Linked DNA regions of Homo sapiens: region 1 is linked to region 2. The links are contacts of gene promoters, found by promoter capture Hi-C in human tissues and cell types (Jung and others, 2019). All regions are on one chromosome and are shown on one strand. The core of a region is centred on a gene start or on the middle of the fragment in contact, and the rest is flanking DNA. Distances in the headings are between cores, read along the strand shown.

What was found. The method cuts DNA at HindIII sites, captures the fragments that hold promoters and counts their contacts. A contact is called where the count stands out against the background at its distance.
Region 1: a fragment that was not itself captured here is called in contact with the fragment with the promoter of RPL32 in region 2 in 1 of the 25 tissues and cell types used here (spleen).

The regions. Positions count from the first base shown.
Region 1 is chr3:13,329,292-13,334,483 of GRCh38, forward strand. It overlaps NUP210 (nucleoporin 210), which reads right to left. Exons shown (of 40, transcript NM_024923.4): 29 at 3,002-3,093; 30 at 1,169-1,343. Among named protein-coding and RNA genes, the nearest start is that of NUP210, 88 kb to the right of the region's middle. RefSeq lists a silencer at 1,468-1,635 and enhancers at 2,803-3,162, 3,483-3,532. The HindIII fragment of the contact is 4,318 bases long and covers 1-3,723 here.
Region 2 is chr3:12,838,114-12,842,912 of GRCh38, forward strand. It overlaps RPL32 (ribosomal protein L32), which reads right to left and starts at 3,452. Exons shown (of 4, transcript NM_000994.4): 1 at 3,381-3,452; 2 at 2,029-2,129; 3 at 1,236-1,417. The coding sequence starts at 2,124. It overlaps SNORA7A (small nucleolar RNA, H/ACA box 7A), which reads right to left and starts at 2,337; the gene lies at 2,199-2,337. RefSeq lists enhancers at 1,812-2,750, 2,751-3,687, 3,781-4,030. The HindIII fragment of the contact is 28,801 bases long and covers 1-4,799 here.

The sequences.
Region 1 (5,192 bases), core at 315-2,814, 490 kb after region 2:
GCATTTAAAGAAACGAAATCCTCCTCGATCGCAGGGGCAGCGCTAAGCAGGCCACAGCATGCCCTGCAGGCCACCAGGGGAAGGAGGGAAATGGGGATTTCTGGAGCCCAAGAACCCGAGCTCCATAAACAGCAGCCCTTGTTTCTCTGAGTCCAGGTGAAAATCTATCCTCGCTCAAAAGCTAGTGCTCCAAAGGTCTGAATTTCTTTAACAAAGTTCAGTGGTGCAGTGTCTGGTATACAGCTAGTGCTCAGTACATATTTGTTGAAATAGGATGAGCAGTCAGTCACTTTCACTCACCAAAAACTAGAGCGGGGGATTTGCTGCCAGGCACCCATTTTGAAACAAAATGATGTGAATTAATGAAAGAGGTCTGTGACCCAGGCAGAGTCTAAAGATTTAAGTGAGTGTGTGTCTTCTGTCATCCAGGGTTCAGCAAGTGGTGATGATGAGACATGGAAAGAAAATTCCATTCAGCAAAACCCCAGGACCTGACCCAGGGATGCTGATGGAGAAGGTCCCATCCGTAAGGAACACAGAACGGCAGAGGGCAGTGCCATGATATGGCAGAAGGACACGGCCCAAACCAGACAGACCCCATCACTCAACCCCCATGCAAGCTTAAGCAAGTCACTCTCACTCTGAGCCTCAGTCTCCTTGTCTGGAAAATGGGCCACCTCATTCTCAAAACCACAGTGGATGTCACGTACTGGATGTCACGACTTGTATGGCAGGTACTGAGCACAACATTCAATGCTCTTAAGAACAGACCATGTTCCAGACACTGGGCTGGCCCAGAACAGGAGCTCCACCATGGGTGGTGATAACATCAGTGGCCAGGCACAGTGGGTGGAGCACCCGCACTCCAGTCAGGAAGCTGTGGTGCCAGTCCCAGCTCTGTAACCTTACGCCAATCATGGACCTTGCTGGGCCTCATCTATGAAATGAAGTTCTTGGAATCAATGATTTCCCAAGGATCTTCGGCTCTGATGACCAGAAGATGCTGTAGCTTTTTATCTACCTAGGACCTTTGCCCCTGAGTTACTCTAAATGCCTGTCTACAGTTTCTTAGCTGGAAGGTGAACGTATTCACTTTTACACCTGAGAGGCATATTACCTCAGTGCTATTGCTTTCATTACTCCAAAAAGGAGGAGAATGCAACCCTACCTTTACAGCAACAATGATGGTTTGGTTGGCCCCAAAGGGCTCTTGTGCAATCACTTCGATGGTGGATGTCCCGATCATAGACCCTGATGCTAGAAAGCCTTTCTCATCAACATGCACAACTGGAACCTTTTCGGGTCCATCCAGGACGCGGTAGCTCAGAGAGGCTGCACCATCCCTTTGGAAAACAAAACAGAGCTGTTTTTGTAGATGGCAGCAGTGGGAGTGGGCCTGGATACAATGCCAGGAGATCTAAGAGTCTGTGGCTCCTCATGCTCCTGGGAGGAAAAAAGGCCCAATCTTGGCCCCACGGACCTCAGGACCACGTGCCGTCAGTTGTCTGAGGCTTCATCAGTCACCCACGGAAAAGTAATTCAGAAATCCAATGGTTCCGAGCAAAGTGTGGCGTCTCACTCTTCCCAGAGCAGTGCCTGCCGTGGGTCAGCCAGCAGGGAGGGAGAGACTATGAGGGCAGTTTCTTTCATCAGCTCCATGGGACATCTACTGTAAAATATCATTTCTGCAGCAAATTGTTCTCAATTTACTGAAGCAAGGCATCCTGGCATAGTGGAGGATGGGGCTTTGAGTCCGACAGAATCCAAAGCCGGTCCCAACATGTCCTGCCACCAGCTGTGTGCACATTATGTCCCCTCTTCTCTCGGCGTTGACTTCTTACTTGGTAAAAGGTGTGTAATGATCCTGTCTTGTCCTATTTCTAAGGACTGTCAACAGGATAAAAACAGACTACCCGCTAAGAAAACTGTTAGCAAACTACTGATACTATGTACTGGGTAGGAAGCAAATTATGCCGTATCTGTTACCCTTTTACATATTTATTAATATAATAAAGAAACCCAGGAAGCAAAGGCCTCCAGCTCCCACGGCTAGTTTCCATCATCTCTGTCTCTTCCACAGCCCTATAGATGACTAGGAGCAAATGTTATTGCCTCTGCCTAAACATTCTTCCCCCACCAACCCCTTCCTCTTAACCTGGGGAACTCTTATTCATCCTTCAAGAACTGCAGCCCGAGCATCTCCATCTGGGACATGCCTCCCCTAAATCCCCATGGACAGCACCCTTCTTTGGGCTCTGGTTTGAATACTACACCTTGCTTTTTAATAGCCTTCTCCTGCTACCCTCCTCCGGGGCACCCTATGTCACCCATATCTGTGTTCCTGGAGCCCAGCATGGAGCCTGGCACTTTGTTACTTTTGGCTGAATGAAAACATGTATGTGTTTCATGCAACATGTAAGTGTCCTGTGGCCCGTGGAGTCTCCCGCTTGGCAACTGCCATTCAAATGCAAGCCACTGTTACGAAAGGCATCCCCTTGGAATCAAAGGTAGGAATTAGGTTTGCAGAAGAGCTTTAAACAGCTTTTCCCAAGCGTTACTGTGCGGCCCCCTCGCCTGGGGATCTCCCTAGGGTGCAGCTTCTCCCTGGGCAGGTCTGGGGTGGGGCTTGAGAGCTGCATCTTCTCTTCCCGGTGATGCTGATGCTTCTGGCTCATGGGCTACACTCTGAGTGGCAAGTCTTGAAACACAACATTTCTAAGCTGGTGTTTTTTTCCCTTTTAAAGACTGAATTTTAGTACCTCGCATAAAAATGTTTCTAGGCTACAAGGAGGAAAAAGAGACCCACAGTGAGAAGTGATTTCAAGAAGCAGAGGAGCACCACAGAGAAGAGAAGGAGCAGGCAGAGGCCTCACCCATTCCAAGCACAGCAGGAGAAAACCTCCCTGAAAGTACCCATGGCTCCTGACAGTGTTGACACATGAGGTGTCGGATGCAAGCACAGCCGCACAACTTTGCTGGAAACAAGAGCTGAGTCACGTACCTGTTTGTCTGCAGCTTTATATATGAGTTGGGCGACATTAATATTTGTTCTGCTTCTATTTCAGGGTTGAGCAGCTGCAGCTTCTCAAACACCTGCAAGAGAGGGCAAGTTTCACTTCCGATGGGGCACTGGAGTCACATTCAGGCCAGATGTCTGCTTCTCTCCTAGCAGCAAGAGCCGAGGAGGGGCCAGAGAGGAGAAAAGCGGCTTTCTCGTCTGTCAGGTCACTGATGACATGATGTGAAGGGCTGACCTTTAAGAGGCCAAAGGTGTGGCCGGGTAGAGTAGCTCAGCCAAGGCAACACAGCAAACCCTCAGTCTCTACAAAATAATTTTAAAAATTAGCCAGGCATGGAGTGTGCAACTGTAGTCCCAGCTACTTGGGAGGCTGAGGCTTGCACTCCAGTCTGAGCAACAGAGCAAGACCCTATCTCACACACACACACACACATGGCCAAAGATATGATGAGAAAAGACAGGCAGGCTCATGTTTGTGTAGTCTAATGGGAGCTCCTTCAAGGAGCCTGGAAACACAGGCCTCTCCCTCCGTGCCCAGTGAGGAAGAACTTTACCTGCCAGGATGTGAGCGCGGAGGGCAGCACACACAACTCCAGCACCAGGGTTTGCTCAGGATAACTGTGCCAGGACTGAGCCTGGGCAAGGTGCCACCGAACTGCTCCCTTCTCTCACAGAGACATCCTGCTCCTCACTGCCACCATCTCAGAACAACCCCCGTTCCACCTCCCAGGCTCCTCTGGCTGGCTCTGGCCATGTTCTTGCAGGATCCACATAGACACACACAGGGGCCTGGTGAGGAGCTCAGTCCGGCAAATGATCAGCCTCATGAGGTCGGCTCAGATCTGATCCTGGGACGCCCAAGTGCTCCAAGGCCCTGGTGGCTCCCCGAGCCCATGGCAACAGCACTTACCTGGGAACTCCAGGCCCCTTCTCTGCAAGACTTCAGATGTGTCCACCACCTGTGTAAGTCCCCTCTCTCAGGCCCCTCAGGGCTGCTGCCTCCTCGGCCTCCCAGCCTGGCTCAGGGGCAACCACTCGCTGGCAGGTAAAGCTGTGCCCTGAGCTCTCCACTGGCCTCTGATCAGACCAGGTGGACACCCCTCGGGCCTGAGCCCTGGGCCATGGCCAATATCATCGGATCTGACGAGTGATTCTCTGAGAGGAAGATGGCCTGATTCCACCCCTCCCAGCTCCTCTGTGCTCTGTCCACGTAAGCCTAGATTTCCTTGTGTGTAACATGGTCCACAACTAACGTCCTCTCCATGCCTGTCTTGAGAGTTGTGGGCTCCATATGAGGTGACAGGAGGAACAACACTTCCCAAACGGTGAGAAACAGCCTTTGGGAGCTGGGTGGGGTTTTGGCGTCAGGTGAGACGAGGCTGACTCGGATGCCCCCTTCCGGCATCCACACGGAAGCCACCTCACTGAGTCTGACTCGGACACACTTACTGCCTGGTAAATACATTCATAAATAGGATTCCTTCTATTTTTTTTTAAACCATGCATTCCTATTTTCTCTCTTTAGATGGAGGGGGAGTTGTAAGATATTTCCCACTTTCCTGTTAACTATAAGAAAAGCAACAGCATGAGCACCATGGTAAATGGCAACTGATACTTGATATCACTGTCAGGGAGAAAACAGGGAGTGGCGGGGCCTGTGGCAAACTGGAGAGTGCAGCTCTAATGGAGTCAAGGTTGCTTCTCATTGCCTGCTGATTTTGCTGTGGCAGACACCATATCTTTAGGACATGCTGCATCTTAGATTTTTACCTGGAATCTTCCTATCTTTACATGACAACAAGCTGTCTCAAAGGCCTGAGTGAGCCAAATAAAACACGTTTGTAGGCTGGATCCAGATTCTCTAGTTTCTGATTTACTCAAACTCTACCTGCTGTCAGATAGGGAAACAGAGGCACAGAGCTGCCAAGTGACCCAACTGAGGTTACAGAATTTGGAAGCTGCAAAACCCTGCCTTTAATTCCATGATAGGCTCCAGGACTTACTTCCTTTTAACAAAGAACATGCATTTGGTGAGTGTGGGGATGTGCATGTGTACCTCTGTGTTGTATGTATGTGTCTCTATGTATGTGTGTCTGTGTGTGCATGTGTGTCGTGTGTGTGTGCATGTGCAGGCAGGGGTGAGGGGTTGGCAGATCGGTGGGGGTTTTTTTGT
Region 2 (4,799 bases), core at 2,202-4,701:
AAATCAAACCAGGCCAGGCATAGTAGCTCATGCCTGTAATCCCAGCATTTTGGGAGGCTAAGGCAGGCAGACCGCTTAAGGTCATGAGTTCAAAACCAGCCTGGCCAACATGGTGAAACCTCATCTGTACTAAAAATACAAAAATTAGCCAGGAATGGTGGTGCACGCCTGTAATCCCAGCTCTTGGGAGGGTGAGGCAGAAGAAACGCCTGAAACTGGGCGGTGGAGGTTGCAGTGAGCCGAAGTCATGCCACTGCACTCCAGCCCCGGCAAGAGAGCAAGACTTCATCTTAAAAAACAAAAACCAATAAAACCCACCTGGAACCAATGCCCTGCAAACCCTCCATGTGCTTTCACCTCTACACCTTTGTGTAAGCACTCTCTGCCTGCCAAGTTTCCTCCTGTTCTCCATCTAATGCAAACTTTCCAGAGCCCTCCTGCCCCTGAAGATACCCCTTACCACAGCACAGACTTAAGAGCCCCTTAAGGTCTGAGGTCCATGTTTGACCTTCTCCCGCTTGTAAGCCAAAAATAAAATTCAAAGGCCCCCAGCAACCATCTGAATGCACTCCCTCCTTGAATAGGGCACTCTTGGTTTCCACAACCTCTTACTGTAGCCAAGACATTCCTTTCTAGTGATAACCAATTCTCGACGAGAAACAGAAAATCTATCCAAAACCTCGAAGTGCCGCCTTTCTGGACCAAACCAATGTATGCCTTATGTGTATTTGATTGATGTCTCATGTCTCCCTAAAATATGTAAAACCAAGCTGCTCCCCGCCCACCTTGGACACATATTCTTAGGGTCTCCCAAGGGCTGTGTCACGGGCCATGGTCAACTCATATTTGGCTCAGAATAAATCTCTTCGAATATTTCAGAGTTCAACTCTTTTGCTTGACACCTTCATAAAGAAAGCAACATTTTGGAAACAACAGCCAAAGGATATTGTAGTAGTGGAAAGTGGCTATTATTGCAGTGTTCACAAAGCAGTCTTTTCCTGGTCTTGGGTCTCTACACTTAGAAGACCAAGTCACCTCCTTCAGCAAAGGAAACACCTTGAATTCCCCAACAAGCATTCTCTAAAATCCTGCAAGGAACAACTTCTGATTCCCTCAGAGAATGTACAACACCCCCCGCCAAAATGCATCCCAAGAGTTTGTAGAGTTCCTGCCAGAAGTGCTCACACAGATGCAAACTTCTGATCACTGAAAACTAGAGGTGGGACCCAACTCACTTGTTGCACATCAGCAGCACTTCCAGCTCCTTGACGTTGTGGACCAGGAACTTCCGGAAGCCACTGGGCAGCATGTGCTTTGTTTTTTTGTTGCTTCCATAACCAATGTTGGGCATCAAGATCTGGCCCTTGAATCTTCTACGAACCCTGTTGTCAATGCCTCTGGGTTTCCGCCAGTTACGCTGAAGGAAATAATACACAGGTGGGTTAGCGTCTGTGCAGAGTGCGAACTCTTCCTTTTGGGGAGGGAAAAAAAGGACCAAATGAAAAGGAAGTATGCCACACAGTAGTTGCCTTTGGTAACAGGACTTCACTATTTCCTTACTTTTTTGGTGGGAAAAACCAGGAGCTCGTGGCTTTAGCCACTAGGGATGAAGGCACCCCCACCATTGCCACTCCCAAGCAATGGAGGAGGCACCAATGGGATGCGAGGGGACTGTGTAGATACTGAGATGGCAAGCACAGCTGCAGACACTGCTCTCAGCACCTGAGTTTTCTTGTCTATAAAATAGGGATCCTGCTGTCACAAGGCAACCCAAAATACAGGACACAAATGCAAAGCCCTCTGAACACATCAAAACGGCCAAATGTCCCTTTTCATTAAAGTTTCGCTTCACACATCAAGAGACATAAGTACCAGCACTAGGGCACACTGGGGGAGACCTGTATTTCTACAGAAAGCTCTTCCACAAGCCAGTTCATCGGTCAAAGATAATCCTGACTAGGTGATGTCAGAAACTGTTGGAAACTCTTTTCTTCACCCCACACCCATTTCCATCCCAGGACCACATACCTTAATTTTGACATATCGGTCTGACTGGTGCCGGATGAACTTCTTGGTTCTCTTTTTGACGATCTTGGGCTTCACAAGGGGTCTGAGGGCGGCCATGATGCCTTTTGGGGAAGAAGCGGCCCCAGGTGAGGAAGAATCCTGGAAGGAGGCTTTCCTGCCCAGGGACTGAACACTGTCGCAGAGTGTCTTCCAATCGCCAGCTACGGAGCAAGCTGGGAATGGAATGGGTGCCTCTGCCAGGCTTGCTTTCCCTCCCTTTCCGAAGCTGGCAGAATACTAGGCACTCTCCAGATGCGATCCCAGGAGGTCAAGGGTCACCTCACCCACTCAGAGCCCAAAGAATGCCAACAGCTGAGCAAATCAAAACTGACCCCAAGACACTCTCAATTTGCAAGGGGCAGCAAATCCCACCCCACCAGTGTCCGAACCCCCAGATGGTCCTTCCGGTAGTACTGGCCTTGACCATCTACTTGAACCTGAGTCTTTTCCTCACCTGTAAAATGAAGATGACACTGCGCGCTGAATGCCTGCAGTGCCTGTCACAGGGTAAATGTTCAATAAAACCTTCTAATTCCCTAGGGAGCTGCTGCGCTACCACACCCTCAACACACACAAAACCACCATATACCTCTGAAGATGCCTCAAACCTGGAGATCTTCCAGTATCAACTCACACCTTCCTCAGTGTGGTCTTCCGAGCCATTGATTTCCTACAGCAGCACCCCTTCTGCTCTCTTCGCAGCCATCAACTGGCCCAGAGTGGGTACTCAATGAACCACGTATTCAAAACGACTCTGCCTTCTGGCCCATGATATCCTCGAAGGCAAGGTGGGGGCAGTTGCATCTTCATATTCCCAGAGATACTACCAGAATTTCTGCCTGCAGCTGGACCAGCCGACCTACAGCTCGTCTTTCCTTGGCGGTCCCGCAGCAGCAGCCCTCGGGCCAGAGACTGCAGCGGAAGAAGCCGGCCATGGCATGAACGAATACACGTGGGCCGACATTGGTGAGCGCTGGGATCCACAGATCCCAGCTGAAAGCTGTCAAGCTGGGCCACCCCTGGTCGTCCCACGGCCCCCAGGAGACCCCGAAGTCTGGCCTCAACTAGCACCCTCCACCGCCAAGGAACAAACAAGCAGCCCGCAGCTCTGAATACAGGCGGAGGGCAGGAGGCTCTGGGACGCAAAGCCCTATCAACTCGGCGGCTTCGTTCTGTTCCTGTACACGCTCCAGTAAGCTGACAATAACAATACCCACAGACACTACCGCGCTGAAGGGGAGGCCTCCGCACCACTGGGCGACGGGGCCAGATGAATCCCGCAGGAATGCGGATTGCCACGGATTAACACTTACCGAGAAGGAGATGGCTGCCACCTCCGTAGGCAGCGCCGAGGAAGAGAGAAGGGACGGTGGCGCGCAAGGGCTGATGGGTCGTAACCCCTGGGTCCTAGCAGGGAAAAAGGCAAGCACTTCCGGCTCCGGCTCTTTTAAATAAAATAAAGACACGTCAAAAAATAATGCCGCAAAAATTCTGAGTATACATGTTTTAATAGACAATAATAACTAGGAATAGGACTGAGAAATGTATTCTACCTATCCTTGGGACTACGTAGAAATTTGGAATTCTTTCTGAGCTAATAAGACCTGGTGGAGGGAGGAATTTACTTCCGCCAGAAGTCGAAGCCAATCCGCTTTTGGGCTATTTCCGCCCGCGTTTCTTCTACTCCGAAGTGCGCCTCTTAGTGGTCAGAAGAGAACAAGACAGAGACTTCCTAATAATTTCATCACCGAATTTAGACAGTAAATAGTAACGAAAACAGCTAACATGCGATGGAGTTCACTATGCCTACCACAATTCTATAACGTACCCCTATTATTGTCTCCATTTTGCATATGTGGAAGATGAAATTTGGAGACTTGACTCCAAACTCCACGCTTCTAACCACTGGGCGAAACTGCCTAGTTTTTCTTTGTTCATTTTTTAGAAATGGGGTCTCACTCTGTTGCCCAGGCTGGTCTTGAACTCCTGGGCTCAAACGATTCTCTCGCCTCAGCCTCCTGAGTAGCTGGGATTACGGGCACGAGCTACTGCCTAGATGTTTTTTGTTTTGTTTTGTTTTTTGGTTTTTGGTTTTTTTTAGACAGGGCCTCCCTCTGTCACCTAGGCTGGAATGCAAAGGTGCCATCTCACGGCTCACGGCAGCCCCTGCCTCCCAGACTGCCTAGTTTTTAAAGATGCTCTTGATTTGTTTTGCTTAGCTTTTGTATTTAAGATTATTGTGCAAATTGGCTGAGCACTATGGTTCACACCTATAATTCCAATACTTTGGGAGTCTGAGGTGGGAGATTTGCTTGAGCCCAGGAGTTCAAGACCGGCCTAGGCAACATAGTAAGACCCTGTCTCTACAAAAAATAAAATAATTAGCTGGGGCTGGTGGCGCATGCCTGTAGTCCCAGTTACTCGAGAGGCTGAGCTGGGATGATCACGTGAGCCCAGCAGTTCTAGACTGCAGTTAGCTGTGATAATGCCACTGCACTCCAGCCTGAGTGACAGAGCAAGACTCTGTCTCAACAACAACAAACCTATAAAGACAAATAACCCAATTGAAAAATGGGTAAAGAATCCAAATAGACATTTCTCTGTGGCCAATGAACACATGAAATGATCCACATCATTAGCCATCAGGGAAATACAAACTGGAACTGCAGTGAGATACCATTTCACACTCACTAGGACAGAGAAATGGGAATGTCCGTACAGTGCTAGTGCAA